7 separate regions of the Homo sapiens genome follow, and regions 2, 3, 4, 5, 6 and 7 are each linked to region 1. Evidence: promoter capture Hi-C in 16 types of primary human blood cells and fetal thymus (Javierre and others, 2016). All regions are on one chromosome and are shown on one strand. The core of a region is centred on a gene start or on the middle of the fragment in contact, and the rest is flanking DNA. Distances in the headings are between cores, read along the strand shown.

Region 1 (4,415 bases), core at 1,120-3,619:
TTGACAAGTAAGAATTTTTCAGACTTAAAAATTTTTTTTTTTAATTTTTCAGAATAGAGGTATAATTTAATTACTTTTTTTTTTGAGGGAAATATGAAATCTGATGATGATCCTCCTGCTATTCCACCGAGACAGCCTCCTCCTCCAAAGGTAAAACCCAGAGTTCCTGTTCCTACTGGTGCATTTGATGGGCCTCTGCATAGTCCACCTCCGCCACCACCAAGAGATCCTCTTCCTGATACCCCTCCACCAGTTCCCCTTCGGCCTCCAGAACACTTTATAAACTGTCCATTTAATCTTCAGCCACCTCCACTGGGGCATCTTCACAGAGATTCAGACTGGCTCAGAGACATTAGTACGTGTCCAAATTCGCCAAGCACTCCTCCTAGCACACCCTCTCCAAGGGTACCGCGTCGATGCTATGTGCTCAGTTCTAGTCAGAATAATCTTGCTCATCCTCCAGCTCCCCCTGTTCCACCAAGGCAGAATTCAAGCCCTCATCTGCCAAAACTGCCACCAAAGACTTACAAACGGGAGCTTTCGCACCCCCCATTGTACAGACTGCCTTTGCTAGAAAATGCAGAAACTCCCCAATGACCTTAGCCATATGTAGTCATTGACACTGGAATGGTATTTGTAAAGTTTTTTTTTTAATTTATTCAAAAAAAGACATAGTATTTTAGTACTTTTTACAAATAATGCTCTTACAAAAATGCTACTGATCAAATAAGCTTTTAAGAATTGGAAAAATAAAAATACAAAAGTCCTTCACCATTATCCTCAGGTGATCAGTAGCATTGCCTTGTCTTGGATCCTCAGTGCTGCCAAAAGGCCAGTATAAAGAATTTATATTTGCACTGTAAACTCTGCAAAAATATGGTTTAAAGTGACATGATTGCACTGAAAAGGGATAGTGCTTTTGTGAAATTTTTCAAATTTGAGTAATAGATGCCTTTTTAAGGCAGTGAATTTACACAAATATGGGAGGGGTATATGGTGTTACTGATTTTTAAACCTCTTTGACCATCTTCTAGTTTTTACTTCTAGTTTTTACATCTAGGAGAATTGTGAATAACACCAACTGTTCTTAAACTCTTTAATGCCATGTCTTAAATGCCGGTATTTGCTGCTGAAGACAAAAATGAAAAGTAGGATGAAAATAATAGAATGGCACTGTAAGTGTTTATTATTTTGTCAAAATGTAAACAAAGACTACATAACCCAATGATGGAGGGAAAAAGGGCATGTATCTCATTCAGATGTGCCTTTTGTTTTTGCAGACTATGACGTCTTTAGCTAATGAATTGCCTATTGTTATGGAAAACAGTTAATATGCCATGTATGTACAGTTTTGTTTATATTGTATATTTAAAGATACTGCTAATAACCTATATAAATTTAAGTGACTTGAGGCCTATAATACAATCTGCTACTTTACTAATTCATAAATTCAAAAAAAATTCTATGGCATAGGAACCAACTGCCTTGCCTTCAAGACCTAGTAACTTTCTCTATAAATCTCGTGTTAACTGAAATTTTTTTTAAATATATTTTTTAGATTGGTAATATTTAAACCAGCAAATACTTAAAGCTTTATTAAACATTTTAATCAGATAAGTGAGTAAAGCTTTTATTTGCCATTTGGATGCCTTCGTTCAAAGTGATAGAGTGTTTTGCTGATAGTGCTGTAGCAGCAGTTGTAAAGTAGCCAAAAGCCACGTTGTTTATTTACTGGTTTGTGGCCTTTTACTGTGCTTTGTATCAGAGTTCTTAACAAGATTAATAAATCACCCCAGTCTTAATTTTTAAAAGACTTTTAAAATATGTGTTTTCATTATAAGGAACAAAGGGGGAGATTGTTGAGTCCTATAGACACACACACACACACACACAATTTTTTCTTCACTGTTAAATGTGAGCTGCAGGCTTCTAGCAACCACTTTTATGAATTCATACAAAAAACTAGGAGCATACTAGGAACTTGAAAAGGAAGATTGTAAGATTATAGCCATCTTTGGTAGGATCTTGGAAGCTGATTGCATTTAAGCCTTGTAACTACTATGTAAATCAAGTGTCCAACTTGGTAAACTCTGAGGTTGGCTTTGTTTTTTAAAGAGCAGATTATAATAGTTTTGTCTGGGAAAGTGATTTAAACGGCCTCTTCGTTAAGCCAAACGTGTGATTTAGGGTAGAGGGAGGCTGCCAAGCGCGTCGGGTAAGCAGGGGCCCCACGCTCGGCCCCGCCCAGGTAACGCTGCCTTCCGGGCTTTGTTAACTCGCGCGCGCTGCGTCGCCAACTCAGCGGCGGGCAGGGGGCGGAGCCGCAGGGCGGGGCGGTGCGCGTTGATGTGACGTCCCTGCGCGCGCCGCTTTCTGTTGCCGGGCGCAATGGCGGATACGCTGGAGTCCTCGCTGGAGGACCCACTGCGGAGCTTTGTGCGAGTTTTGGAGAAGCGGGATGGTACAGTGCTACGACTACAGCAGTATAGCTCCGGTGGCGTGGGTTGCGTTGTGTGGGACGCTGCCATTGTCCTTTCTAAATACCTGGAAACGCCCGAGTTTTCTGGCGACGGGGCCCACGCGCTGAGCCGGCGGTCGGTGCTGGAGCTGGGTTCGGGCACCGGGGCCGTGGGGCTCATGGCTGCTACCCTCGGGTAAGAGCTGGCGGGCGGGCGGGATGTGGGGGCGCCTTCTTGCTGGGGAAATCCGGATTACAGGCTTTCCCCCCTGTGCCTACACCTCAGTCGACGTTATTTTATAGGGCTGATGTTGTAGTCACCGATCTTGAGGAATTGCAAGACTTGCTGAAGATGAATATTAATATGAACAAGCATCTTGTCACTGGTTCTGTTCAAGCCAAGGTACTGAAATGGTTTGTATGGCCTTTCAGCTTGTTTTAAGATATTGATTTGTAGTTTGTTTTGAATTGCGTTTCATTAAAAGGATGGAAGGGGACTTTCCGGTTCTTTATAAAACAAGAGTATTTTGAATTATTAAAACAATTGAAATATTTGTTTGGCATTTTTAAGGGGGGAAGAAATAGAAGGCTTTCCTTCTCCACCCGACTTCATACTGATGGCCGACTGCATATACTATGAAGAGGTAAGTATCCAGTGAGCGAAGTCTCTTCACTTAGAAGATGAACCTTATTCCATGAATTCTAAAGCACACGTTTCTTCACATTTTAACATCTTTGAATCCGGGATTTGCCTTATAGTTGATGCAGTAAAGAGAAGATAAAAGTCACCAGGGACCATATGTATATACGCTCATCATTATCATACCGACCTGGTGAAGCATGTTGAGAAAAGTGTTATATGCATTTTACTAGAGGCTTCTGTAAAAATTTTAAAGGATTTTGCCAATTGGATGTTATGAAAAGCCAAAATCCTCTCTTTTTCCCTTGGTTGTTCCCACGGAACATGTTAACCATGACATTGAGAATTAAGTTATAAATAATTCATTGTTCTTTTCTTTAAATACCAGTTTGGGCCGGGCGCGGTGGCTCACGCCTGTAATCCCAACACTTGGGAGGTCAAGGCAGGTGGCTCACCTGAGGTCGGGAGTTCGAGACCAGCCTGACCTACATGGCAAAACCCTGTCTCTACTAAAAATACAAAATTAGCCAGGCGTGGTGGTGCATGTCTGTAATCCTAGCTATTTGGGAGTCTGAGGCAGGAGAATCGCTTGAACCTGGGAGGCGGAGGTTGCAGTGAGCCGAAATCATGCCATTGCATTCCAGCCTGGGCAACAAGAGCAAAACTCTGTCTCAAAAAAAAAAAAAAAAAAAAAAAACATCAGTTTGTATAGTGTTGTGGGCATCGATTATTTTAAAAATAATTAGCATTGAACCAAGTTAGGGTCAGATTTAACTTTTGTAGGGAAATCGTTGATTATTTAAATCCCAAATTAGATTAAATAAAATTAAACTTTTAAGAGTAAGGTTGATTCCATTTGTTTCCCATGAGAACTCCAAAATGCAGTCATCTGAATCCTTTTTCTGGAAACCAAAATCAGTACATGGTTTAGTTAACAGGAGCTTACCCAATCATTAGTTACAGAGGGGTTTTTGTTTGTTTGTTTTTGTTTTAAGATAGGGGTCTTGCTCTGTCACACATGTTGTAGTGCAGTGGAGTGATCATAGCTCACTGTAACCTCGAGCTCCTGAGGCTCAAGTAATCCTCCCATTCAGCCTCCTCAATAGCTGGGACTATAGGTGTGCACCAGCATGCTGGCTAATTTTTAAATTTTTTGTAAGGTGTTGCGGGGGGTGGTTTGTCTCTCGCTGTATTCTCCAGGCTGGTCTTCAACTCCTGCTTTCAAGCGATCTTTCCACCTCTGCCTTCCAAAGTGTTGATATTACAGGTGTGAGCCACTGCACCTAGCCTAGAGCTTTAATTACATGTGCTTTGTTG
Region 2 (4,415 bases), core at 1,378-3,877, 710 kb before region 1:
GGGCCCGGCCCTTCCTCCCCGGCGTCCAGAGCTCCGGGTGGCCGCGGCCGAGCCGGGAGCCGAGCGCGCTGGGCGCGGCCGTCCCGCTGCCGCCGCCAAGCCCGGAGTGCGCCAGCGGCCATGGTTCCCGCGGCGGCGCCGGGCGCCTGAGCCCCGGGACGCAGTAAGTGGCGCAACCCCGGGGACCCGGACCCACGGCCTGGGGGTGCACGGAGGCCTCGCGCTGCCCCCGCGCCGTCGGCGAGGCCCTGAGAGCCCGGAGCGAACTGGGCACCGGATCACTCGGGGGCTTCCCATTTGGGGTCCGGGGCCAGCGGGGCGCAATCCCTGCGGGCCGGGAGGAAGCAGCGGCCGGGCGGGAGGACGAGGCGGGGACGGGGCTGCTTCGGAGGCGGGAGGAGGGGCCGGTCCCGGAGGCGCGGGCTGCGCGGGCGGGGGCGGGCCGGCGGGGGCGGGGAGGATGCGCGCTGCAGCCCGCGGCCCCCGAGAGCCGCGCTTTTGTAAGAGCTGGCCCCTTACATATGGAAATGACGCTCACGCGGGTCCCCATTCGCGTCCTTTTGAAGGACGCCCGCCCGGAACCGCTGCGCCGGCTGCGAAGTATTGTCCCGTTTCTCCAGCCCTAACAAAGCGTCCTCCTTCGCTTTGCAGAGCGCTGGAGGCGGGCTGCCGGCTGTGCGGGCGCTCCGGAGAGACCGACAGAAGGTAGGCGAGGGCGGCGGGGCCGGGGGAGCGCGCTGCCTGCCCACACAATGGGCTGTCTGAGGTTTCTGGTAGTGGCGATGGGCAGGCGAGTTGAGGACGCATCGCAGGTGGCCAGGGACTTGGGAGGCGCGCTTGTCCTGCGGCCGCACCTCCGCTTCCCCGCGCGGCAGCACCGCTGGGTTTGGGCACTTCCAGTACCCCCGACGCCCCGGCCGCCTGCCCGGAGCTGAAAGCCGCTTCTGTGCTTTGACCGAGAGCAGGCTTGAGTCCCCGAGGGAGCAGAAGGGGTGGTGGTTCCGTTGGCATGTGCCGCCCGTACAGCCTTGTGATTGAGACGCTGCAGAGGAAACTGCATGGGGAAATCCGAGGTGTTAGCCTGGGCTGTCTGAGTAGCGGAGAGCTGCTTGGAGCCCGGAAAGTGGAGATTTTTGGAGGTGTGCGGGGTCGATGCGCGTAAACAGTTTCCCAGTATAATGCCCAGGAGAAGGGGAAAGAACAAAATGACATTTGGTTATTGCCTAAAAGGTGTGGCATGGAGGTATGGAGTGTCGGGGAAGGAAGCTTCCAGCGGCTAGGCTTCTGTAGCTACCGAAGCGGCCCCTGACAGAAGGACACTAGGTGATGGGAACAGTCACTGCTTCCAGCTCTCGCTGCGAAGTTAAAAGAGATAGAGACGGAAAGAGGCAATTTCCCTAACCCCAGCCCTGACAACCCGAGGTGAAGGCACCAACAAAATGGGAGCTGGAAAGACTGCCCTACCATATATCATGTTTCCAGACAACTTGGATATTATGAGATCTGCTTTCTGCTCCTAACTAGGACAGATCCTCTCCTGGTGTTGAGGACTTCTAAGATGGGCTTGCCATACAGCTCAACTCCTGAATTTATTACATCGAAACAGATTGCGTAGTTGTCTTTTGTGACTGACATGGTAGCTTTGTAGGATGAGAATCCTGATAAAGTCCATCCTGACACATGAGGGAAGCCCCTGGAACCACGACGTTTCTCAGTTAGGTCCCCGTAAACACCATAACATACACACATGTTTGCATGATTCCGGAGGCTTGATGATCTAACAAGGAAAATTCCTTTTTTCTGTCAGTTTAATTTTACCTTGAGTCTTCTCTCGTGGTGAGCATATTATATAGGTGGCTGACCTGGAATATTGGTGGCTCTTGCTCCGGAGTTGAAGGGAGCTGAGGATTTCCAGAGTGTGTATAGGAGGAACATTACAGGCTGGCTGAAAAACGAGTTTGTGTGTTGTGGTCTCTTCAGCTATTGTCAGTGTCCTTTGGGAGGTGATGTGAACTGCCCGGGAATTTGTTTGCAGATTTGTTTATTTTCCCTGTTCTCTGGTGATTCTTTAGAGGGAAGCATTCTGCAGAGTGGGGAAAAGGTAGGATGAATGTTCCACAGGGTTGGACATCGGCAAAGTTATTACCAATACAGGGAAAGGCTTCACAGGGGGCAATAGAGAGGAAGCCATCATACAGTCTGCATTAAAATGTCAAGGATCAGTCATTTTAATAGGCACTTGCTCAGAATGGCGTGGGGTTCTTTTTTCTTATTTCTTTTTCATTTTAGATGTGTAATGACCCTTAATATCAAAAGATGTTAACTGTCACAGAGGGGGAGAATAGGGCTCCAGTGAATTCTGAACAGCCAATCTTAATGTAATAGGCAGTATTCTTATCATGAGTCAAATGTTCAAATAAATTGTTTTAAATGTCACTGCAAATGACTTTCTAAACTAACATTTCAACTATCTTGATGCTTCCATTTTATGTTGATAATGAAAATGCATTTTATCAGTCTTACATTGATAAAGGGTGGGCAAGCTTAGCCAGAGCATTTTAGAAGGATTTAAACAGCGTGAAGCCTTTTTAGAAGGCTTATTTTTATAGATGCCAATTCATTTGTAAGCCAATAAATTATCTGGTTTGAATTCTAGCTATTGAACTTGCATCTGTTGGGCAGGGGCTTATGGAGAGACTTAGTGAAGCTTGCAAAAAGATTTTTATCCTATTTATGAATAAAATAGAATTTTGAAAAGATTATGAGATTCTGAAAGTGAGCATCCTTGTTTGAAATTAGGACACTTCTTTATTGCAATTTAAGTCAGCAATTAACCATTTATTCAAGCTTTTGGATGGAAAAATTACAAAGCATCTATCTATACCCTAATTCTCACTTTAAAAACAAAGTTGGGAAAATATTGTTCATAGACGTGAGAAGAGAAGATCACCTTCACTTACACCTCAGGGTACCATACTCATAGCCTCAGGCATCCTAAATTAATGTGAGTCAATATGGCTTAAGAAGTGGAAGTTGTTATAAGCTTTCTCCTTTTTTTTTTTTTTTGTAACAAACATGCAGCTCTGTTTTCTGCTTCTGTAATTTACTTAGTAGTTGATTACAGGTTACTGAATGCACATTGTGCCAGGCTAATGGCGTTTTTTTGTTGTTGTGTTTTTTGTTTTTTGTTTTTTTTTTCCTGTAGCTAACCTGAGTTAACTACTTGATTGGGTAATCTACCAGTTATTAGGTTGAACAAAAGCATGGGTTTATTACATCCTTCAGGATAGTAAAATAATAAAGGTTGCTTACATTTTCGAATAAACGCTGATAGGATTCCCTTAGTTAAATATTATAGTGTAGTTGACAAAGGTTGTTATTTTTCTTTTTCTTTCTTTTTTTTTTTTTTTTTGATACGGAGTCTCTCGCTCTCTCCTGGGCTGGAGTGCAATGGCATGATCTCGGCACACTGCAACCTCTGCCTCCCAGGTTCAAGCAACACTTCTGCCTCAGCCTCCCGAGTAGCTGGGATTACAGGTGTGCGCCACCACACCTAGCTATTTTTTTTTTTTTTTTTGTATTTTTAGTAGAGACAGGGTTTCAACGTGTTAGCCAGGATGGCCCCGATCTCCTGACCTTGTGATCCACCTGCCTCAGCCTCCCAAAGTGCTATGATTACAGGCATGAGCCCCCGCTCCCAGCCATTTTTTCAAATGTATTTAATGTGACTTTCTTCCTGTGCATTTAAGCTTTCGTGTTATATTTTTGTATCATGATTTCATTCACAGTGATATTGTTGTGCTTTTGGTATCCAGCTAGAAGTGAGACACTGAGCAGAGAGGAGGCATTCTGACAGTAATCAGTTTGCTGCTAAGCAGCACTGGTTTTTGGCGGAAGTATTCTCCTATATAAACTCGTAAATGGCTGCAACTGCTTTTTCTATTGAGCTTTTACTAAACTTGAATTTATCCTTGTCACTCTTTCCTTTTATACTGAAAGTAGTCCAATATGGTGAGCCTGAAAATCTGTGCAGCCAATTAAAGTATTTGCAGAAAAGAAAGAAGAAAAAGAGCACTTTAATTTGATCATTGGCGTTATTAGGCTCCGACTTGCCAAATGGTGAAAGCTAAAGGCATAAATGGAGAGCTTTGCCCAAGTGGGGTTTGTCGGTGTTCATCACGTCAGCTGTAGAGTAAGTAAATGAGTCACTGGTGGTCACTGCCTAGTCTGTGGACCCCCAACAGCTATGTCTGCACACAGGTCCAAAAGCATCTATTATGATGCCCTCTCAAGGAAAGCAGCTGAGCCGAGAGGGGCATGCAGACATTCCGCAGAGCTCTTCAGCTGCTGAACCATCTGGATGCGAAATAAAAGGCCTGGGCTAGGGGCTCTAGCATTGTGCATATTTATTACTT
Region 3 (4,415 bases), core at 1,370-3,869, 680 kb before region 1:
CGTTAGCTTTGCTGTCTCTGTTCCCATCGTATCATGTTAAGTGCAATGAGGCGGATGCTCTAAATGGGAGAGGGATGTCTGAGTGTGTCATTCTTAGAGGTGACTATTTTTAAATGGTGTGATTAGTCCACTTCGTTATTGGTCACTTGCATGGTTTGGAAAATAAAGTGATGAGAAAACTTTAACCCATTTTTCTTTGTGTGTGCTAATGTCTTTATTCCAAAAAGGTTACATAGTTTAATAGATGTCTCTAGAAATTGACTTTATCATGTTCGTACGTTCTATGAAGGATATTAACTTAAAGTTTGCTTAAATTGGTTATTATAATAAGATAATGAAATAAACAATTTAATGCCTGGCAATGCAAAAATAAATGAGTAAATAAACCAAAACTCCACAGGGTCCCTGCTGGCTCACAATCTGTTACCTTTTATTGCTTAGAAAAAGAGCTGTTTTGAATCCACCACTGCATCTACCCTATGCACTACGTGGGGTAGTGAGTAGTAAACAACCAGGGAACCATTTCATCCACCGGTAGGTTTGGGATTAGATCACAATGGATTTTTAAAAGATAGTTGTTTTCTCCCACTGCTTTTTTTTTTTTTTTTTTTAACCTCTGAATAAGTGCAGCATGCAATAAGAGCTCCTTCGCCACTTCCATCCCCAGGACACAACTTTGTTCTTATACTGGGAAAATACTGTGGTTCATTATCCAAGGTTCTAAGTGTTCCTTTTAATCTTTTCCAAACCCCTATAGTCACTAATGGTGTATCTTGTTGTCTGCCACCAAAATTTAAGAATATGTAATAAATTAAGGATGGTTCTGCATTGCCTCTTATCTGACTAGCATCTGTGGGTGTCAGCTGCCAACAAGTAGCTCGGGTGTCTGGGCCGCTCCTGAATGGTCACAAGCTGACACACTGTCTTCTGATAAAAGGTACCTTCAAATATGCATGCAATTTTCAGTATAAATTTTGTATGCTTAAACACTTCCTGTAAGAGAATCACTCGACCTAATAAAATGACTTCACTGGGACTTTTTTAAAGCTGGATATAAATATCACTAGAAATTATATAGCTACCATAAATACTTCACTCTGAGCTTTGCTGAGCATGTTCAGAATGTGTCTGGCCACATTTGTGAAGATAGTGAAATCCGAGCTTGTCCCAGAGGGAAGGACATGGCGGGGAGGTGTTTAGTCAAAGAGGGTCGCCAGTCCTCCCTGGGAAACTGTAAAGTAATGGCTAAACCCCAGCATGGTTTCAATGGTGATAAAGGAACGGTCGTTCTTTTAGTTCTTATCTAATCAACTATTGTCGTTTTTATAATACGTGTACATAATCTCATTTAAAAGTCTACATGTCTGAGTTCAGACATACCTTGCTAAGACTCATGTTCAAACAGAATACATATCTGTTCTCGAGAGAGTATGAATATGTGGACAGCAAGACAACAGAAATCAAAGCATTGTCATCTTTTGTACTTTAATGAAACATTTTATTCTGATGCTGTACAAGGTGCTAAAAAATCTATAGCTGAGATAACATTTGAATAGAGTGAAGTATTTATTTTATTGCTTTAAAGCTCCAATTGTAGAAAAAGCTTAGCCTGTAGTTGTGGCGGTGGAGGTGGTGGTGGTGGTGGTGATGGCAGTGGTGATGGCAGCAGTGGTGGTGATGGTAACGGGGAAGGTGGTCAGTGTTGAACCTGAGACAAGTGATGTCAAAATGCTGAAGTCCTTCTTTAAGATCAAGAGATGACTCTCACCTCATGCACATTCCTTTTTATTTTGTACAACACCGATGCTTACAAAGAGATAAAATAATACAATTTTTTTTACTGTGGTTTCACATTTGCTATTTTATTTTACTGTTTTTAATTTTACAATGAGATCTTGATGCCGGGTTTCATATACGTAACTAGCTGTCATTAATTGCTTAGAATGTGTTGTGTCCGTTTCTTTGTTTTGTCATCTGCTTGTCTGATAGATCAGAGAGTGGAATGGTTAACAGAGGAATCACTGAGGTAGGGGAGGGTGTTTCAGACTAATTGATGTGGATACTGAGTATACAGTGCTGATTTGGTGTCTGTTGTATTACCATTTTCTAAGACTTCCTCCAAGGTGTCTCTTTGTTAATATGATGTCTCCCCATCCTGCTGGAAAACCCAGCTTAATAAACAGAACAAATGTGACCCCTCACCTTTTCCTGACCTTAATCCTCTGCAATTAAGTCAGATCCCTTGCTGCCATTGTTGGATTGCTCCCGTCATGTGCAGATATATACTCACGGTCCCATAAATCGTTCAGAATTAGAAGGCGTGCTCTGCATCTGACCTGATGGCTCATATACACCCACAGCCACCACAATTGGCAAACAGTGGTGGTTTATTTTGAGGTTGGTATAAGAGGCTGTGTCCGATGGCTGTGAGTGGCAGCTAAGAACTGAGATTCTCATGTCATGTGGCCTCAACTCTTGTCTCCTCTCTCAGACTGCTCACTAGAAGCTCAGCCCAAATATGTTAGAGGTGGGAAGCGTTACGGACGAAGGTCCTTGCCCGAGTTCCAAGAGTCCGTGGAGGAGTTTCCTGAAGTGACGGTGATTGAGCCACTGGATGAAGAAGCGCGGCCTTCACACATCCCAGCCGGTGACTGCAGTGAGGTAAGGAATCGGGCATGCACGTTCATCTGGATCATGAGTGTGGAGCCCCACGTCAGTGCAGCACAGAGACAGGGGAGCTGAGGGGGTTGATGGCACGATGTGGGCTTTTCTCAGTTACCAACTCCTTGCTAATCTTATTACTTGCCTTTTGGACATATATAATGTTTCTATCTTTTGAATGTTTTTACCTCGTTTCAGCTTTTGGAGAGCTGACATTTCTGTGCATGCGTCATGTACACATTTAGAGTTCAGGTATTTCCACATCATCTGAGGTCTCCCACTTCTAGTTCTTGAATATCTCTCTCCTCTATAGCATGATCATTTTTAGTTATTTAAAAGGCGAACCAGCTCCTCCCCCTCCCTTGCCCCAAACTATAAAACAGCATCTGTAGCAGGAAATGAAAGCAACGCGTTCAGGCATTTTGAAAGCCTGCATCTTATCTTTTGTAGTGTGATAAAGCAGCTCGAACACTTGGTTTTTGCCTCAAGATACTGAGCCTGGGGTGCTTTCCAGTGCCCAGCAGTTGCCATGGTTCTTTCTGCTGGATTCCTTGCACCCAGGCCTGTCTCGTTCTCCAGCATGTGGAGAGTCGCCAGCCTCCCTCATCCCCCATCTTTTCATTTTGCATATTGCCATAATCTACCAATAAAGGAGGTTCAGTAACATTTTCTTTATTCTTTCTTTATGGCTCATTTACCAGCATCCCATTTATAGAACATGATTGAAAATGCCATGCTGAGCAAGCTGTAAATATTTCTTGCAAATCCCAGCTCAGACTGGGGCTACAGATATTTCAGATACTAATATAAATTGGAAAAGAAACAAAGCGCCTCAACTTTCTGAAAGTGGTCTGTAGATTGCCAGTGGACTCTGTGTGTGTGTGTGTGTGTGTGTGTGTGTGTGCGCGTGCACCTGTGTGTTCATTGTGGTCTAACATCCATGTTCAGCTTACTGAAATCTACAGGAAGCTTGCTCCCAATAATGGCCCCAGCAATCAGACATCCAGTGTCCTCCTCAACTTTCCAGAATACCCCAAAATCCAAAAATAACAAAAAAGAGCCCAAGTGTTGAGCCCAAGTGTTGGCAATAAATACGGAAATTTATAAGGACACATGACCAGTCTGCTGATCGGGGTCTGCATCATTTTTTTTTAAAAAAACAAATGACACTTGTCCTTCACCACAAGTGAAGCAGCAGTGGCAGAAATGTTATTGAGAAGAGAGGGAGAAAAGCAACTAAAAGAGAGAAGAGAGAAAAAAAAAACCCACAAAAGTGGTATAAGAGTAGTGTGGATGAGAAGTGACAGCTGAAAATAGAAAAAGCCAAAAGCAGAAAAAGCTGAGAACAGTTTCAGGAGTCCTTCTCCTTTCTTGGGTCTCTTTGCGAATTGAGATAGGGGTCTTTCCCCAGTAAAACACATATACTCATATGCACAAAAATTTTACATATACAATCTCAGGGATGCAAGTAATTTACATACTTCAGTTAGTACAGTGTTCGTAATAGTTTTCTTATTGTCAGGAAGGGTATCATAAAGTCTGTTCTATAACCCTGAGTGGTGTGGAATGTACTTCTTTATGAAAAAAATGGTTAAATGTCTCAGTACTTGAGCAGGTAAGTTTTTGTTATTTGGAAAACACTTTTAAGTTTAATAACTCATTTCCCCAACTATTTCAGTCCCCAGGGTATTATTTGGTACTAAGAAAGTAAATGCTTACTTTTTTTTTGACATGAGTTTCTAGTCCTCATCTAG
Region 4 (4,415 bases), core at 771-3,270, 660 kb before region 1:
AGGGCCGCCGGGTGCTCTCCACACCCGGTCTTTCTGATCTCTTATGCTGCAGGCCAGGGGAATTAACATTAAGAACAACAGCAACAAAAAATTTATTCCCAATTGATAGCTTTTAGTTTTAAAATCCTAGCATTTAGTATCATGCAAGAGATGGTAACTAAGATATATAATTTTACTTACGGGCTAATTTCTCTCTTATACAGACTTTCAGATTAATTTTCTAACAGTCTTAAATAGTGACCTATTAAAGTGCATCCCTTGGCCAGGTACAGTGGCTCACGCCTGTAATCCCAGCACTTTGGGAGGCCAAGGCAGGAGGATTACTGGAACGCAGTAGTTCATGACCAGCCTGGGCAACATGGCATACCCCGTCTCTACTAAAAATAGCCAGGTGTGGTAGCACATGCCTGTCGTCCCAGCTACTCAGAAGGCTGAGGTGGGAGAATCCATTAAGCCCGAGAGTTGGAGGCTGTAGTGAGCCGTGATTGTGCCACTGCACTCCTGCTTGGATAACAGAAGAGACTCTGTCTCAAAAAATAAAAATAACAATATAAATTAATTAATTAATTTAAAAATGCATCCCTTGACAAGTTTCAAATGTATTTAAGAAGCATCAGAACACGTTGATCCTCTGGCCACCAGATGGCACTGTGGTTCAGCTAACAGAACCTCAGCCCACTTCACAGCCCTCTGTGGATTAACTGTACTTAAGTGTAATTACAACCTGTTCTCTAGGTTGAAACGCCACAGCAGTAATGGGCTTAATTCCTGTCACTAAAGAGTGGGAGTAGCACTAAATACTGCTTTCAACCCTCTGAGGTTCTTCCAAGCACACAAAATTGTGCCAGTAATTATCTCATGTTTAAGTAATGACTTTACAGAATCTCTAATGTGTAAAGCAAAATTTAGAAGTGAGGGCTTTTAATAGAGAATAAATAAGAAGTTTTGATTTTTAAATAAGTAGTTTGATCCTTAAGTCTTCAAATGAAATTTAATGTATAGATAACTGGGAACTTATAGCTTGCAACCATTGATTTTTTTTTTTTAATTTCAGTTGGACTGTTGGTTTCTGTATGTCAGAATATTCATATGTAAGGATTTGGGAACAGGCTAATGTTGAGACTTTTATCATGAAATTATTTTCTTTTCAGTAAAAGATGCTGTAGTACTTAGGCTGGAAAGAAAGTGGAGGTAATACATTCTGGTAGCTATAGTTGAGATAGAGCTTACAGAGTTCTCGATAATGGCCCTCAACCAGCCTTCTTTCTCTATGATCACTATAGCCTAAGCTTGTGATGTGCTCAGCTGAAATAAAACAAGCCTAGAACTTTGCAGTATTGCACAGGAGATTATATTTATTACACCGGTATGACTGTCAGGGAGCCAAAAAGTACCCATTTACTCTAGTTGCAGCCTTAGAACCATTGATTCTGTTTCATGGGAGCTTCAGGACCAAATCAAAATGGAATTGACATTTATTGCCTTTTTCTTACAGTATTTATTTTCAAAAAGCACAGTTTTCTTTAAGAATAGGCACTCTCTCTTTGCAATTCCTTTGGAAACCGTGCAACATATGCTTCTCTCTCAGGCCAGTTAAGGTTTTGGAACCCAGATGACTTGAATGCTTCACAGAGTGGATCTTCCCCTCCCCAAGACTGGATAGAAGAGAAACTGCAAGAAGTTTGTGAAGATTTGGGGATCACCCGTGATGGTCACCTGAACCGGAAGAAGCTGGTCTCCATCTGTGAGCAGTATGGTTTACAGAATGTGGATGGAGAGGTAAGCCTCGCAGTATAATTCAGGAATGATAATGATGGTAAAAGTGTAGTTGACCACATGCTAGGAACAGCTGTAGTGTGGCTCTCTGCAGCTTGTTAGGCTCCATTTTCTTTTTTCCTAAGAAGTCATTCATGAAGATTCTGTCACTGAGGAGCTCTTGTTGTGTTGTGAAAAAGAAAAACTGACAAGAGCTGACACTTACCCAGCTATTGTAAGCTCACTGTGCTAGGCAGGTTACCCCATGTGAAACTGTCAGGCACTAGCTCTCTGTAGCCATGATGTCAGATGTATTTGTAGAGGTGCCATTCACAGAGTAAATTGTGGGAAACATGTGGAGGCAGAATTAAGCAAGGATTTCAGTAGATTTGAGTTGGGGGAGTATTTTGAAGACCAGAAGGATAAATTTAAGTTTTTGGAAAGAACATCTCAATATCATCTCTGAGTTCTTAAGCAGATTGAGCAATATATAGAAAAATCTTGCTTGCTGACGAGGAGCTAAACTGCTTTTACATATTAGCATGAAGAGAGCCTTGGGTGAGAGCAGCCAGCAGCCATTACAATATTCTGGTCATGAGAAAATGGTAAAGGGTAGTTTGGTTGTTTTGAAAATACTAAGAAGAGTTTTGAAGGAGCCCCCAAAAGACTCTTCTTTGGTAAAACTCTGAGCTTTATGTTTTCTAAAAAATTAAGGGAGGAACTGGTAGGACTGGGTGCATGAATAGCTGTGAAACATAAGAATAGAAATAATTCTAAGATGTGCCTTTCAACGAGCTGAAAATAAGGATTGGAGAGAGTTAGGGTAGGGCTACAGTTGTCGCTTTGGGAATCTTTGATTATAATGATATTTGAAACCATGCTTTCTGCTTGCTCGGGGGATAAGTGGTATTATTTTTCTAAACAGATAATAGAAATATTTGTTTAGTGGTATTTTTCTAAACAAATAATAGCTTTTGATTTATTTTCAAAAGCTTTCAAGTAGCCTAGCTTACAGAAAATTTTTTTTGTTGTTTTCCCCTTCTTTCCTGTATTTTTGACCATTATATACCCTTTGTTTACCTTTGTAATGGCTCAGTGGTAATTTATTTTTCATTGGTGACTATTAAGTCATAAAATTAAATTTATTCTCCTGAATTGTAAATCAGTGCAATATGTAGAACCTTGGGTTGTTTTTGCCAAAAAATATTGCACAAACTTGGATTATTTATCTAAAACCAATTCTTGGAATAAACTGTAGCTACTTGTGGAGAGCTGCATGTTCTTCTGTGGTGGTTTCCAAAGCTCAGGAAAAGAAGTAGCACATTTAGTTATTTTCCTCTGGCCTGAGGACAAGTAGAGGATTGCTCATAGAATATAACTTTTACTTAGTGTTTTTCCTGCTAAAGAAAAATAGTGAAATTCTATAGTACTTAGTATTACTAGCTCTAAACCACAGAGGAGCTGGAAGTTCAAGATGATCTCATTTACTTGGAATCCTAAAATTTTACAACTGAACGCCATTTTAGATTTAGTCACCTCTCATTTTATAGGTAGAGAGAGTGAAATCGTGGCTGTTCCCTGCTTTCATGAAGGGGAACTAGAGTCACTGTCTTATGCCTGTAACTAGCACACTCCTTTCCGAAAGCAAGAACAATGACAGGGCAGAGATGCAAACCAGCATGCCCGATGCCGAATCTGGCCCCAAGCCTATTTTACTTGTCATGCCCAGTGTTTTTAAAATTGAACTTTTTGCTACATTGAAAAAAAAAATCAGGAGATTTTTCTAAAACTCCAAAGATTTGGCTCCATTTTATGGGCAGTAAGATGCAGCCAGCCCCTTTGGAGAGGACATGCACTCCTGTGTTCAGTTTCCCAGCACTCGCTACTTTCTGATGTCTTAAACCCATCTTGCCTCATTCGTTGACATCATCTTCCGGGCCTCTTTGAGTGTTTGGGTTTGTGATTATTTTCCAACTTACACTTCAGCAAACCAGCTATCCAAAGACCTGGTCCATGTAAGAATAAGAATGTCCTCACAGTTCCAGAGACAGCTCCTGCTCAAAGTGTAGAGCGTGCCCCAGTTGGCCATTTAACCGGCATTGTTTTCTGCCTAGCCCCGGCCCCGTCTTCTGAATCCACACTCTTCTATTCATCACTTGCCCACTCCACCATCTAAAATAACTGGAAGGACTTTCCAGGTGCGAGGTCTTTAGGCAGTCTGGAAGCTGTGCACTGATTTGGCTAATGTCACAAGGTCAAGCAGTGTGGATCTAATGTTAGAGCCAAACTTTTAACCTTGTTAACTTCAGTCAACACACCTGGACTTGACAGTAATTTCTGGTACAAAGGTCCTGAAAGCCTTGTCCTCCAGGAAAATATTATTTTGGTTGATAAGAACAGGATAGAAAAGTTAAGGGATCTTGGCAACCTCAGAATCTTGCCCCAAATATCTTTCCATTGATTTGATCCTCTTTTAGGAATTGTTGCTTCTTGCAAACGTTTCCACTCTTTAGAATGGTTTTCTTGTTTCAGAGTTCCCTCCAGAGGAAGTCGTATGAAAGCAAGAATGGAAACTAATGTTTCCTGTTGGGTATGAATTGGGGAAAAAAAAGCATTTGAGATGAGAGAATTGCCTCAAGCCCTTACATGAAGAATGAAAT
Region 5 (4,415 bases), core at 1,111-3,610, 640 kb before region 1:
CTACTCTGGAGGCTGAGGCAGGAGAATGGCGTGAACCCGGGAGGCGGAGCTTGCAGTGAGCCGAGATCGCGCTACTGCACTCCAGCCTGGGCGACAGAGCGAGACTCCGTCTCAAAAAAAAAAAAAAAGTGCCAGTCGCTTAAGAGACTTGAAGAAGTCAGAAGGCATAATAGCCCATTGATTGAGTAGACTCTTTTAAATATTTTTTTACTGTTTTTGCCATTATTTTGATGTGAACCTACCTTGGGATGATTGGAACTGTTTTTATTTTGTTATGTTTGTAAAAGAGGAAAGTATTCCTCGTATTAAGATTTATTCTACCTTATAAGGCTCAAGAGGAGGATAAGATTATCCCAAAAGTGGTTCCTTCCTAGTTCAATCCTGTTGCTTTCTGAGAAAAGCTATTAATAAACTGGATTCCAGGCAAGGTTACATTTCCTCCCAGAGTTAAGAAACAGCACTCCATGCTTACATTCCTCATGTGAAATCCCAGGTTTATTTGAGGGCTTTGTTTCGTCACACGCTGATTGACTTGGTGCTACTTCGTTAAGTAAGAAGCAAAAGCAGAATGAATTTGTTCATATGTGTCATTTATGTGACTGATATCCTATAACGCATGCTTAATTAAAATGAAGGAATGGTATATATTTCCCAAGTGAGGAATTAGATTAATATACATTTGGTCATTTGTCTTTGGTTTAAAAATCCATAAACAAATACATCCGGGAGTGTGCCAGAGAAATTAGTTTCTAAGATTTCCCCCTAACTCCAGAGAGAGGTAAGTCTTTTAAATGAATTATGGCTGCCAGTCTTAGCTTTCAGAAATGAGATCCCTTTCCAGTATAAATGAATCACATAGGAGTAAGTTAAGAGCATTTTTAGGGAGTATTTCAGTTGTTTGCTCAGCAGCTTTCTCAGTGCATGGGAAAATGGTTTTTGTTTGCTTCTGGAGTTGGCGGCAGTTTCAATAATGCTGTATGTTGACTATATTTAGGGAAAAAATGGAAACAGAGTGTAATAGAAGAACCTCTCAAATAGAAGCCCAGTTTCAGTCTGATTGTCAGAAAGTCACTGAGAGGTGTGAAAGCGCTCTGCAAAGCCTGGAGGGGCGCTACCGCCAAGAGCTGAAGGACCTCCAGGAACAGCAGCGTGAGGAGAAATCCCAGTGGGAATTTGAGAAGGACGAGCTCACCCAGGAGTGTGCGGAAGCCCAGGAGCTGCTGAAAGAGACTCTTAAGAGAGAGAAAACAACTTCTCTGGTCCTGACCCAGGAGAGAGAGATGCTGGAGAAAACATACAAAGAACATTTGAACAGCATGGTCGTCGAGAGACAGCAGCTACTCCAAGACCTGGAAGACCTAAGAAATGTATCTGAAACCCAGCAAAGCCTGCTGTCTGACCAGATACTTGAGCTGAAGAGCAGTCACAAAAGGGAACTGAGGGAGCGTGAGGAGGTCCTGTGCCAGGCAGGGGCTTCGGAGCAGCTGGCCAGCCAGCGGCTGGAAAGACTAGAAATGGAACATGACCAGGAAAGGCAGGAAATGATGTCCAAGCTTCTAGCCATGGAGAACATTCACAAAGCGACCTGTGAGACAGCAGATCGAGAAAGAGCCGAGATGAGCACAGAAATCTCCAGACTTCAGAGTAAAATAAAGGAAATGCAGCAGGCAACATCTCCTCTCTCAATGCTTCAGAGTGGTTGCCAGGTGATAGGAGAGGAGGAGGTGGAAGGAGATGGAGCCCTGTCCCTGCTTCAGCAAGGGGAGCAGCTGTTGGAAGAAAATGGGGACGTCCTCTTAAGCCTGCAGAGAGCTCATGAACAGGCAGTGAAGGAAAATGTGAAAATGGCTACTGAAATTTCTAGATTGCAACAGAGGCTACAAAAGTTAGAGCCAGGGTTAGTAATGTCTTCTTGTTTGGATGAGCCAGCTACTGAGTTTTTTGGAAATACTGCGGAACAAACAGAGCAGTTTTTACAGCAAAACCGAACGAAGCAAGTAGAAGGTGTGACCAGGCGGCATGTCCTAAGTGACCTGGAAGATGATGAGGTCCGGGACCTGGGAAGTACAGGGACGAGCTCTGTTCAGAGACAGGAAGTCAAAATAGAGGAGTCTGAAGCTTCAGTAGAGGGTTTTTCTGAGCTTGAAAACAGTGAAGAGACCAGGACTGAATCCTGGGAGCTGAAGAATCAGATTAGTCAGCTTCAGGAACAGCTAATGATGTTATGTGCGGACTGTGATCGAGCTTCTGAAAAGAAACAGGACCTACTTTTTGATGTTTCTGTGCTAAAAAAGAAACTGAAGATGCTTGAGAGAATCCCTGAGGCTTCTCCCAAATATAAGCTGTTGTATGAAGATGTGAGCCGAGAAAATGACTGCCTTCAGGAAGAGCTGAGAATGATGGAGACACGCTACGATGAGGCACTAGAAAATAACAAAGAACTCACTGCAGAGGTTTTCAGGTTGCAGGATGAGCTGAAGAAAATGGAGGAAGTCACTGAAACATTCCTCAGCCTGGAAAAGAGTTACGATGAGGTCAAAATAGAAAATGAGGGGCTGAATGTTCTGGTTTTGAGACTTCAAGGCAAGATTGAGAAGCTTCAGGAAAGCGTGGTCCAGCGGTGTGACTGCTGCTTATGGGAAGCCAGTTTAGAGAACCTGGAAATCGAACCTGATGGAAATATACTCCAGCTCAATCAGACACTGGAAGAGTGTGTGCCCAGGGTTAGGAGTGTACATCATGTCATAGAGGAATGTAAGCAAGAAAACCAGTACCTTGAGGGGAACACACAGCTCTTGGAAAAAGTAAAAGCACATGAAATTGCCTGGTTACATGGAACAATTCAGACACATCAAGAAAGGCCAAGAGTACAGAATCAAGTTATACTGGAGGAAAACACTACTCTCCTAGGCTTTCAAGACAAACATTTTCAGCATCAGGCCACCATAGCAGAGTTAGAACTGGAGAAAACAAAGTTACAGGAGCTGACTAGGAAGTTGAAGGAGAGAGTCACTATTTTAGTTAAGCAAAAAGATGTACTTTCTCACGGAGAAAAGGAGGAAGAGCTGAAGGCAATGATGCATGACTTGCAGATCACGTGCAGTGAGATGCAGCAAAAAGTTGAACTTCTGAGGTAATGTATGTACCTTCTAGACGTCACGAATCCCACAGAGCACCTCACCAGATCTAACTTCCACTGCTTGCCGTGCCTAGAGAAACTAACCTAGTAGTCTTCACGAAGAGAGCAGTACTCTCTAGACTTCCTTCTGCTTCTGTGCCGTATTAACAAATAAAATAACCTTGTTTAGGAGGCATTCCCTTCCGCTGTAGCAAACAAGTGTTCATATGGGGTGTGAAAGTTCACAATGGCGAGTGTTTGCTGTTTAACCATGTGCATCCTCAATGTACCTCTTTAACTTTTTTCTAGCACTTATTTCATTTAGATGGATAGGGGATTTTTTTTTTTTATTTTGCTAAGTGTTACTTTCCTCATTTTGAGGAAACATGTTATATACAAATGAATGATTTTTTGTGTATTATTAACTTAGTAGATAAGAACTCACTTCTTATGCTAATATAGAAAAAATGTTCTGTCTTTATAGTTTTGTACTCATATCACTTGAAGCACATGCTGATAACCCATAAACAGTGCAAATGGTCAGGCACCATGGCTTAAATGCCTGCAATCTCAACTGTTTGGGAGGCCAAGGCAAGAGGATTTCTTGAGGCCAGGAGTTTCCAGGCAAGCCTAGGGAACATAGCAAGACTGCCTCTACAGAAAAATAAAAAAATGTTTGCTGGGCGTGGTGGTGCACACCTGTGGTCCCAGCTACTTGGGAGGCCGAGGTGGGAGGGTTGCTTGAGCTTGAGAGGTCAAAGCTGCAGTGAGCCATGATCATGCCATTGTACTCCAGACTGGGTGACAGAGTGAGACCCTGTCTCTTTTAAAAAAAAAAAAAAAAAAAAAAAAAAAAAAGAGACAAAACAAACAGTGGAAATTTATCTTAGAACATATAATTTGAGGAGCCTCCAGATTCTAATAAATATGCTTGAAAAGCAGAGATACAAGTAGAATTAATTTGAACCACTGCCCACTTGACATTGTAAAATATAATTGCATAGTCTTCTAGCAAATTTGGTTTTTCAAAAAAAAAAAAAACTTGTAAACTATTACAGGACGTCTGAAATGTCTCTGAAATAATTTAATTCTGAATGTAGTTTTTCCTCTTCTTCAGACCATTTTTAGTCCTAAAAATCAGAATATAATGAGATGAATAAAATCACAAAGTAAACAGTGTACATATTTCATTGTGGCCCTTTGATTTCAATAGAGAATTTTCTTTCCCTAGGTACCCAGGGGCCTAAAACTAAGCTAATATAGCTTTGTAACATGGCTTATGTGTATTCAGAACAGG
Region 6 (4,415 bases), core at 1,225-3,724, 540 kb after region 1:
GCACATAGCAAGATGCCTTGTAGATTAATAGGTCCTCATTTGTTGGGGAATTGAACTAAATTACTTAGTAAAAGCTCAATAAGTGTTGATGGCAAAAGATGGTAGGTGCTATAGGAGAGGCCCAAACAACCATTGGAACATAGAGGATCTATTCTTTGTTTTTCAAAATTTATTGTAGAGACAGGGTCTTGCAGTGTTGCCCAGGTTGGTCTTATACTCCTGGCCTCAAGTGATCCTCTTGCCTTGGTCTCCCAAAATGCTAGGACTACATGTGTGAGCCACCACTCTGGCAGAGGATATATTCTTAGGTTTGGATTCTGTCTTAGTGTCTTTGGGCCACTGTAACAAAATCCAGTAGACTGAGTGGCTTAAATAACAGACATTTATTTCTCACAGTTCTGGAGGCTAGGAAGTCTGAGATCAAGGTGCTGGTAGATTTCATGTCTGGTGAGAGCTGTTTCCTGACTCATAAATGGTGCCTTCTCATTGTGTCCTTACATGGTGGATAGGGCAAATGAGCTTTCTTGGGCTTATTTTATAAGGGAACTACTCCCATGAGGGTTGACCTCTCATGACCTAATCTCTTTCCAAAATGCCCCACCTCCTACAACCCACAGGCTAGGGTTTCATCATGTGGATTTTATGGGGGACATAAACATTTTGGCTGTAGAATCTCCTTTAATACAACAATTCCCTGAGGTACCGTCCCCATTTTACAAATGAGGTGACTGAGGCACAATGAATAAGTAACTTTCCCAAGATTGTATAGCTAGTAAGAGAGATTCAACCAGGTAGTATGTCTTGAAAACTGCTCTTACCACTAAACTGTAAATGTTCAACAAAAAGTGAAAGCTGGCTGGGCGGGGTGGCTCATGCCTGTAATCCCAGCACTTTAGGAGGCTGAGGCAGGTGGATCACAAGGCCAGGAGTTTGAGACCAGCCTGGTCAACATGGTGAAACCCTGTCTCTGTTAAAAATACAAAAATTAGTTGAGCATGGTGGTGTGCGCCTGTAATCCCAGCTACTTGGGGGGCTGAGGCACAAGAATCGCTTGAACCGGGGAAAGCGAGGTTGCAGTGAATCGAGATCATGCCACTGCATTCCAGCCTGGGAGACAGAGTGAGACCCTGTCTCAAAAAAAAAAAAAAAAAAAGTGAAAGCTTTGGTAAATATTGGTAGTCTACAAAATTGCCGAAAGAAATTTTTTTTATAAAAAGTGAAAAATTGTATATGTGCTACAATTTTATTATGTTAAAAAACAAGTACACAGGGAAAAAAATCAGAAGGAAACATGTCATTATGTTAGCAGCATTTGACTTTGGGTGATGTGATTTATGATTTGATTTGTAGCAGTATCTGATTAAGACTCATTTAGAGATTGAGTATCCAGATACTGCAGTGTATAATGTCCCTGGTACCAATATTGCTAGTGAGGCTTCTGCTCCTCCTAAAACAGCTCATTCTATTTTTAGATTGCTTTGATGGTAAGTTTTTTCTTAGGTTGCTATGATTTCATTCTACTGATTTTGACTGCTACTCATTGATATTAATTCTGTGTTGTCCTGTACAAAACAAGTCTAATCTCTGAAAAAAAAAAGGGCTAAATATTTAGGCATGAAGGCTCTCATGTTTTCCTAGAATCTTCTTATTTCCAGTATAACCATCTCTGATTATTTCAACTGTTTCTCTAAAACATGATTTAGAGTGATCTTTGGTGTTCTCTGAATTAATTCCACTCAATCTAGATCCTGATAGTGACATAACATGTTTCACAGGGCAGGCATGCAGTACAAATTTATTGAATTTGGTTGGGCATCATTGCTTTTTCACTTTTTATGGGTCCTCTTTTACCATTACAGAAAGACCTGAGCTGTCTTCCTTGGCACTGCCTATGGAGGTGACACCCATCTCCTCCATCATGGCCATCCTGAGACCGCTCGCGAAGCCCAAGATCATCAAAAAGAGCACCAAGTTCACTGGGAACCAGTCAGACTGATATGTCAAAATTAAGGGTAACTGGTGGAAACACAGAGGTATTAACAACAGGGTTCATAGAAGGTTTGAGGGCCAGATCTATGCCCAACATTGGTTATGGGAGAAACAAAAAGACAAAGCACATACTGCCCAGTGGCTTCTGGAAGTTCCTGGTCCACAACGTTAAGGAGCTGGAAGTACTGCTGGTGAGCAACAAATCTTACTGTGTTGAGATCACTCATGATGTTTCTTCCAAGAACTGCAAAGCCATCTTGGAAAGAGCAGCCCAGGTGGTCATCAGAGTCACCAATGCCAATGCCAGCCTGCACAGTGCAGAAAGTGAATAGACAGTGAATGTGTTTGTTTTATTGGGGTTTAAATAAAACCAATAAAACTGTAAAAACAAAAACAACAAAAACCAGAGACCCTGGCTTTTGGACAGTTGTTCGTGTGGCTAATGCCCCCAACAGTTTTATTTTTTAAAATTTTATTTATGTATTGTTTTTGAGATGAAGTCTTCCTCTGACTGGAGTGCAGTGATGCAAGCTCAGCTCTCTGCAACTTCCACCTCCCAGGTTCAAGTGATTCTTCTGTCTCAGCCTCCCAAGTGGCTGGGATTACAGGTGCCCACTACCACACCTGACTAATTTTTGTATTTTTGTAGAGATGGGGTTTCATCCTCTTGGCCAGGCTGGTTTCGAACTCCTGACCTCAAGGGATCCTCCCACCTCAGCTTCCCAAAGTGCTGGGATCACAGGCTTGTATTAGTTCATTTTCACACTGCTGATAAAGACATACCTAAGACTGGGAAGAAAAATAGGTTTATTGGACTCACAGTTCCATGTGGCTGGGGATGCCTCACAATTATGGTAGAAGGCAAAAGGCACTTCTTAGATGGCAGCGGCAAGCAGGAAATGAGGAAGACATGAAAGCAGATATCCCTTATAAAACCATCAGTTCTCGTGATACTTACTCACTACCATGAGAAAGTATGGGGGAAACCGCTCCCATGATTCAGTTATCTCCCACCGGGTCCCTCTCACAACATGTGGGGATTATGCGAGTACAATTCAAGATGAGATTTGGGTGGGGACACAGCCCACAAACCATAATCAAGGCATGAGCCACTGTGCCTGGCCTTCAACAGTTTTAAAGCAGCCTGCTTGCATAACCTCTGCTAGGACATCGTTCTTAAAAACTATCTTTAATGGTAATTGGTGTATTAGGGATTTGGGTTTTTAGGTAGGCAGAGAAAAAACACTTCTAGTGGTATGATTAAGAAGGGTATAATAAAGTGTTTTAATTTCCTCAATATTGACAAAAATTGAAAAAAAGAGGCCAGGCAAAGTGGCTCATGCCTGTAATCCTAGCCTTTTGGGAGGCTGAGGCAGGAGGATGGTTTGATGCCAGGAGTTCCAGACCAGCCTGGGCAACATCAGGAGATCCCCTATCTACCAAAATTAAACAAACAAAAAAACCCAAAAACAATTAGCCAGGCGTGGTGGTGCATGTCTGTAGTCCCAGTTTCTCAGGAGGCTGAGATGAGAGGATAACTTGAGCCCAAGAGGTCCAGGTTTCAATGAGTCATGTTTGTATCACTTAAAAAAAAAAAAAAGGCTGCACTATTAGCTGTTTCTCAGGAAGGTTAATGTAGAACATAAAAGGCTCAGTTTGTAGATAGACTGAGTATATGTGTGTGTAGGAATCAAGGCTATACAGGGTCCAAAAATTAGCCTAGATTATGTGTGCTAGTTCCAGGTATCTTCTATCTTTTAGAATTTTAAAAGAATAGAGGCAGAAAGTCACAAGCTTAATCTAGATGAGGTAATTATCATTTAATGTCTTGAACATAAAGTAATTTGCTAAATTAGAATTTATTTTAATTTTTTTGGACATGGCCTTGCTCTATCACCCAGACTGGCATTCAGTGGCACAAACATGGCTTATTGCAACCTCAACCTCCTGGGCTCAAGTAATCCTCCTACCTCAGACTCCAAGTAGCTAGGACCATAAGTGTGCACCACAATGCCCAGCTAATTTTTATAAAATTTTTCGTAGAGATGGAAGTCTCACCATGTTGCTCAGGCTGGTCTGGAACTCCTGGGCTCATGCAATCCTCCCTTCCTAGTCTCCCAAAGTGTTGGGATCACAGGGGTGAGCCACTGTGTTCAGCCAGAAAATAATTTAGAGAAGCCAGAACTGGCTTCCTTTGGTGAAAATTCTTTGAGCAGATTCCAGACTGGACCTTCTGACTGTTATAAATAAATGGTGGATTCCCATTATTTGTTTGTGGGACAGAAATATTGAAGGCCTGTAGAACCATAATGCCTTCCCCTTCCTTCTGTCACTCACCCACTTCATTTCTCCTATTAGGCCCCTTAGAAAGAGATCCCTGATGCCAGGCACAGTGGCTTACGCCTGTAATCCTAGCAGTTTGGGAG
Region 7 (4,415 bases), core at 1,387-3,886, 530 kb before region 1:
TTTATCCATACACTTACATATCCTTCTTTAGAATCTGAGTTTGAATTGAAGCATTTACCTTAATTTTAAAGTTTCTTCTAAATTACCTTTTGTCACTGGGGTCTGTTTCATTTGCCTTTCTTTAAAGGTAAACTTGATGTTTTCATTTTGCCTTAGTTTCCAGCCAACTGTAATTTTAAAAGCTCTTCAAAGTCAGCTGGGAACTTTTGACTAGTAGATGTTTTGCTCTGGCATGGTACTCCTTCACACCTCAATGGTCACCCAGTCTTTCTTATTTTGACCATTCTGAGATATTCTAAATTTGGCAGTTAGGGCCTTGGGTTGACTGGCAGTCTTCTGTTAACACACTAACTTTTCATTTAAATGCTGTATCCTTGTACCTTTCAGGCACAGGGATTCAAATTTATGTTAAAATTTTGTCTGGGGTGCAACTGTTACAAATAATGAGGATTAATAATAGTATGAACCACATACTGTCTTCCTAGGACTGTGTTAGAACATGCACCAGCAATGATAATACATCTGTATTTGCTGCCTAGTGGCTAACAGATTTACTCTCTTGATTATAAAAAACACCTTCGTTTCAGAACTAGTAAAATATGGGAGTGAAAGAGGCAAAATAAGTCCAAAAATCAAGGAAAATATTTATGCAGTTTCTGTCTCATTGATGTGTGTATCTCCTCCACTAATACTACACTGTCTTTATTACTGCAGCTTATTTATTTAACACTTACTATGTGCTTTATTCTGTAGACACTGTTCTAGAGACTGGAGATGTATCTGTGAACAAAACAAAGATTCCTGTCCTAAGAATCTTCTTTGTGGGATTCTTGTAGGTAAATAAACAAACTAAAATTACATAAGTTAAAAGGTTAAAGTGCTTTTTAAAAAAGTAAAACGGTAAGTAGAAGCTCAGCAGATGTAGACTGCCATAGTAAGAATAAGCTTCATTGAAACATTTGAGAAGAGGCTTGAAGAGGGTGAGAGTGAGCCAAGAGAATATCTGAAGGAAGAATCTTCTAGGGAGAATAAACAGCCAGTACCTGCCGTGTTTGAGAACAGCATCCAGGAGGTGAGTGTAGCTGGAACAGAGTGAGCTAAGGGTAAAAAAAATAGCAGCTTAAGTCAGAGAAGAAATGGAGGTCTGATCATCAGTAGGGCTTCATATTGAAAGTTATACAAGAGATAACTTTCATCAAGTAATGAGACAGTAAAGATAACTTGTACCAAATATCAAGGAAAAAACTTACTGAGCTCAGCCAGTATCACCAACCTGTGGTGAACCAAATAAATACTTCTTGTTTTAAGCCACTGAGTTTCGGGGTGATTTGTTATACATATGCTATTAGTATTCTTTTTTTTTTTGAGACGGAGTCTTGCTCCGTCGCCCAGGCTGGAGTGCAGTGGCGCAATCTCGGCTCACTGCAACCTCCGCCTCCCGGGTTCACGCCATTCTCCTGTCTCAGCCTCCCAAGTAGCTGGGACTACAGGCGCCCGCCACCACGCCCAGCTAATTTTTGTATTTTTAGTAGAGATGGGGTTTCACCGTGTTAGCCAGGATGGTCTCGATCTCCTGACCTCATGATCTGCCCGCCTCGGCCTCCCAAAGTGCTGGGATTACAGGCATGAGCCACCGCACCCGGCCAACTATTAGTATTCTTGTGTGAGAATAAAATTATGCAGCCAGATTATTCTTTTAAAAAGTATAGTAAATTTAACTTTTTTCAAGTTACACAGTTCTGAGTATTAACATATGTATAGATTTCATGTAATGCCTGTGTAATGAGAATACAGAACATTTCAAACACCCTCTAAAATTCCCTTAGGTTGTCCTCTTATAGTCAACTCCTGTCCCTCACCTCCAGTTCCTAGCAATCACTGTTTTCTGTCCTAGTAGTTTTGTGTTTGGAAGAATCTCATAAAAATGGAACTGTACAATTTGTAGCCACTTGAGACTGGCTGCTTTCCCTCAGCATGATACTTCTGAGATTCATCTTTGAGATTCTTGCATGTACCAATAATTAGTTCCATTTTATTCCTGAGTAGATTTCACTGTACAGTTGCACCACAGTTTGTTTATCCATTCTGTTAAAGGACATGTGTGTCATTTCCACTTTGGGGCAAATATGAATACAGTCATTGTAAATATCCACAAATGGGATTTTGTGTGAAGATGACTTCTCATTTCTCTAGGGTAAATATTTGGGAATGGGATTGCTGTAGCATATGAAAAGCATATGTTTAACTTTATAAGAAATTGCTAAGCTGTTCTCCAGAGTGACTGTAGCATTTTGCATCCACACCAGCAGTGTATGGGCATTCCAATTGTTCTGTATCCATGTAAGCACTTGCATTGTCAGGTTTTGTTTGGTTTTTTGGCCATTTTCATAGACGTGTATTGTCATTTCATTATGGTTTTAATTTGCATTTCTCTCACGGCTAATTATGATCCTGAGCATTTTTTCACGTGCTATTTACCATCAATATGTTGTCTTCGGTGAAGTGCCTGTTAAAAATTCTTACCCCCCTTTTTTTTAACTGGGTCGTTTTGTTTTCTTCTTCTGTTTTTGTTTTGAGAGAAGGGGTTTCACTCTGTTGCACAGACCGGAGTGCCGTAGCTGTTCACAGGCATGATGATAGTGTGCTACAGACCTGAAATCTTGGGCTCAAGTAACCCTCCTACTCAGCTTCCTGAGTAGGTTGAACTACAGGTGCGTGTCACTGCAGCAGGCTCAGGGTTGTTTTCTTAATGTTGAGTTTTGAGAATTCTTTGTATATTCTAGGTCAGAGTTCTTTGGCTAATAATGTGATTTGCAAACATTTTCTCCCTGTTTACAGCTTGATTTTCTTTCTCTTAGTGTCCTTCACAAGCGTTTTTAATCTTGACAGAGTTCAATTTAATCAGTATTTTTTCTTTATGAGTTGAACTTTCAGCATCATGGTAAAAAAAAGTACTCTTTGTCTAAACTAAACTCATGAAAATTTATTCTATTTTTTTCTTGTAAAAGCGTTATAGTTTTAAATTTAGATATATGATCTATTTTTAGTTAATTTGTATGTAAGGTGGCAGGTATAGGTTGTGATTAGGTTTTTTGCATATGGATGTCCAGTTGTTGCAACATCATTTGTTGGAAAAACCTTTCCCCGCTATTGCCCTTTCACCTTTATAAAAAAATCAGTTGACCATGTCTGTGTGGGTGTTCTTCTGGATTCTCTGTTTGGTTCCATTTATCTATTTGTCTGTTCTTCTGACAATACCATACTGTCTTGATTAATGTAGCTTTATAGTAAGCCTTAAAAATCAGGTAGTGTGAGTCCTTCAACTTTATCCCTTTTTCAAAAAAATTGTTTTGGCTACTCTAGTTCTCTTTTGCCTTTCAGTATACATTTTAAAATCTGTTTAATAACTATCTGTATCTACAAAAACTCCATGGAATTTTTTTTTTTTTTTTTTTTTGAGACAGAGTTTCACTCTCGTCGCCCAGGATGGAGTGTAATGGCGCGTTCTCAGCTCACTGCAACCTCTGCTCTCGGGTTCAAGCAATTCTCCTGCCTCAGCCTCCCGAGTAGCTGGGATTACAGGCGTCCGCCACCACGCCCGGCTAATTTTTGTGTTTTTAATAGAGACGGGGTTTCACCATGTTGGTCAGGCTGGTCTCAAACTCCGGACCTCAGGTGATCCGCTCACCTTGGCCTCCCAAAGTGCTCGGATTACAGGCGTGAGCCACTGCGCTCGGCCGGAATTTTTATTGGAATGACAGTAGTCTCGCTTTATCCATGGTTTTGCTTTCCACAGTTTCAGTTACCTCTGCAACTGCAGTCTGAAAATTGATGAATATGGTACAAGATCTTTCAAGAGAGAGGGAGAGAGATTACATTCACCCAGTTTTTATTATAATAATTGTTCAATTTTATTTTTGTTAATCCCTTACTGTGCCTAATTTATAAGTTAAACTTCATCATAGATACGTATGTATAGGAAAATACACAGCATACACAGGGTTAGGTACTATCTGCAGTTTCAGGCATCTACGGGAGGTCTTGGAATGGATCCCCCATGGATAAGGGGGGGACTCCTATAAAGATAAAGATAATTTCAGGAGAATTGACATCTTAACTTTATGTCGAATCTTCCAATCCGTTAATGTGATAGGTTTTTTATTTCTTTCATCAGTGTTTTGTAGTTTTTAGCATATTGGTCCTGCACAATTCTTTGGAGCTATTATAAATTATATTATCTCAATAACTTTTGTTTCCAGTTGTTGTTTGTTAATATATAAATATTAATTTTTGTATGGTGACCTTAACCCTGCTACCTTAAGCTTACTTAATAATTCTAGGGCACAGCCAGATTACTTTTAAGAATTTATAACCGGGAATGGTTTTACAAGTTCATTTTTACATTTTTTTTAAAG

The links. The method cuts DNA at HindIII sites, captures the fragments that hold promoters and counts their contacts. A CHiCAGO score of 5 or more calls a contact.
Region 2: a fragment that was not itself captured here is called in contact with the fragment with the promoter of VCPKMT in region 1 in 4 of 17 cell types (non-activated CD4 T cells, naive CD8 T cells, total CD4 T cells and 1 more); the score reaches 7.1 in non-activated CD4 T cells.
Region 3: a contact is called between a fragment that was not itself captured here and the fragment with the promoter of VCPKMT in region 1, in 1 of 17 cell types (activated CD4 T cells). The highest score is 5.3, in activated CD4 T cells.
Region 4: a contact is called between a fragment that was not itself captured here and the fragment with the promoter of VCPKMT in region 1, in 3 of 17 cell types (erythroblasts, fetal thymus and non-activated CD4 T cells). The highest score is 7.4, in erythroblasts.
Region 5: a fragment that was not itself captured here is called in contact with the fragment with the promoter of VCPKMT in region 1 in 1 of 17 cell types (total B cells); the score reaches 9.1 in total B cells.
Region 6: a fragment that was not itself captured here is called in contact with the fragment with the promoter of VCPKMT in region 1 in 3 of 17 cell types (fetal thymus, non-activated CD4 T cells and total CD4 T cells); the score reaches 7.2 in fetal thymus.
Region 7: a fragment that was not itself captured here is called in contact with the fragment with the promoter of VCPKMT in region 1 in 1 of 17 cell types (total B cells); the score reaches 5.8 in total B cells.

What each region holds. Positions count from the first base shown.
Region 1 is chr14:50,114,526-50,118,940 of GRCh38, reverse strand. It overlaps VCPKMT (valosin containing protein lysine methyltransferase), which reads left to right and starts at 2,369. Exons shown (of 6, transcript NM_024558.3): 1 at 2,369-2,654; 2 at 2,762-2,872; 3 at 3,030-3,102. The coding sequence starts at 2,389. SOS2 (SOS Ras/Rho guanine nucleotide exchange factor 2) reads left to right here. Exons shown (of 23, transcript NM_006939.4): 23 at 88-1,811. The coding sequence ends at 597. RefSeq lists an enhancer at 2,373-2,432. The HindIII fragment of the contact is 15,614 bases long and covers 1,630-4,415 here.
Region 2 is chr14:50,826,754-50,831,168 of GRCh38, reverse strand. It overlaps NIN (ninein), which reads left to right and starts at 7. Exons shown (of 31, transcript NM_020921.4): 1 at 7-163; 2 at 652-705. RefSeq lists silencers at 1-115, 166-445, 516-565, 586-705 and an enhancer at 1,276-1,325. The HindIII fragment of the contact is 164 bases long and covers 2,546-2,709 here.
Region 3 is chr14:50,790,958-50,795,372 of GRCh38, reverse strand. It overlaps NIN (ninein), which reads left to right. Exons shown (of 31, transcript NM_020921.4): 5 at 2,492-2,661. Among named protein-coding and RNA genes, the nearest start is that of NIN, 38 kb to the left of the region's middle. RefSeq lists an enhancer at 3,248-3,297 and a silencer at 4,040-4,099. The HindIII fragment of the contact is 2,027 bases long and covers 1,606-3,632 here.
Region 4 is chr14:50,774,313-50,778,727 of GRCh38, reverse strand. It overlaps NIN (ninein), which reads left to right. Exons shown (of 31, transcript NM_020921.4): 7 at 1,589-1,779. Among named protein-coding and RNA genes, the nearest start is that of NIN, 55 kb to the left of the region's middle. The HindIII fragment of the contact is 1,458 bases long and covers 1,292-2,749 here.
Region 5 is chr14:50,755,210-50,759,624 of GRCh38, reverse strand. NIN (ninein) reads left to right here. Exons shown (of 31, transcript NM_020921.4): 18 at 995-3,133. Among named protein-coding and RNA genes, the nearest start is that of NIN, 74 kb to the left of the region's middle. The HindIII fragment of the contact is 479 bases long and covers 2,121-2,599 here.
Region 6 is chr14:49,575,298-49,579,712 of GRCh38, reverse strand. It overlaps a transcript of RPS29 not described here and the pseudogene RPL32P29. Among named protein-coding and RNA genes, the nearest start is that of RPS29, 8.9 kb to the left of the region's middle. The HindIII fragment of the contact is 2,623 bases long and covers 1,163-3,785 here.
Region 7 is chr14:50,645,728-50,650,142 of GRCh38, reverse strand. The region is part of intron 2 of SAV1 (salvador family WW domain containing protein 1); the gene reads left to right. Among named protein-coding and RNA genes, the nearest start is that of SAV1, 20 kb to the left of the region's middle. The HindIII fragment of the contact is 3,377 bases long and covers 948-4,324 here.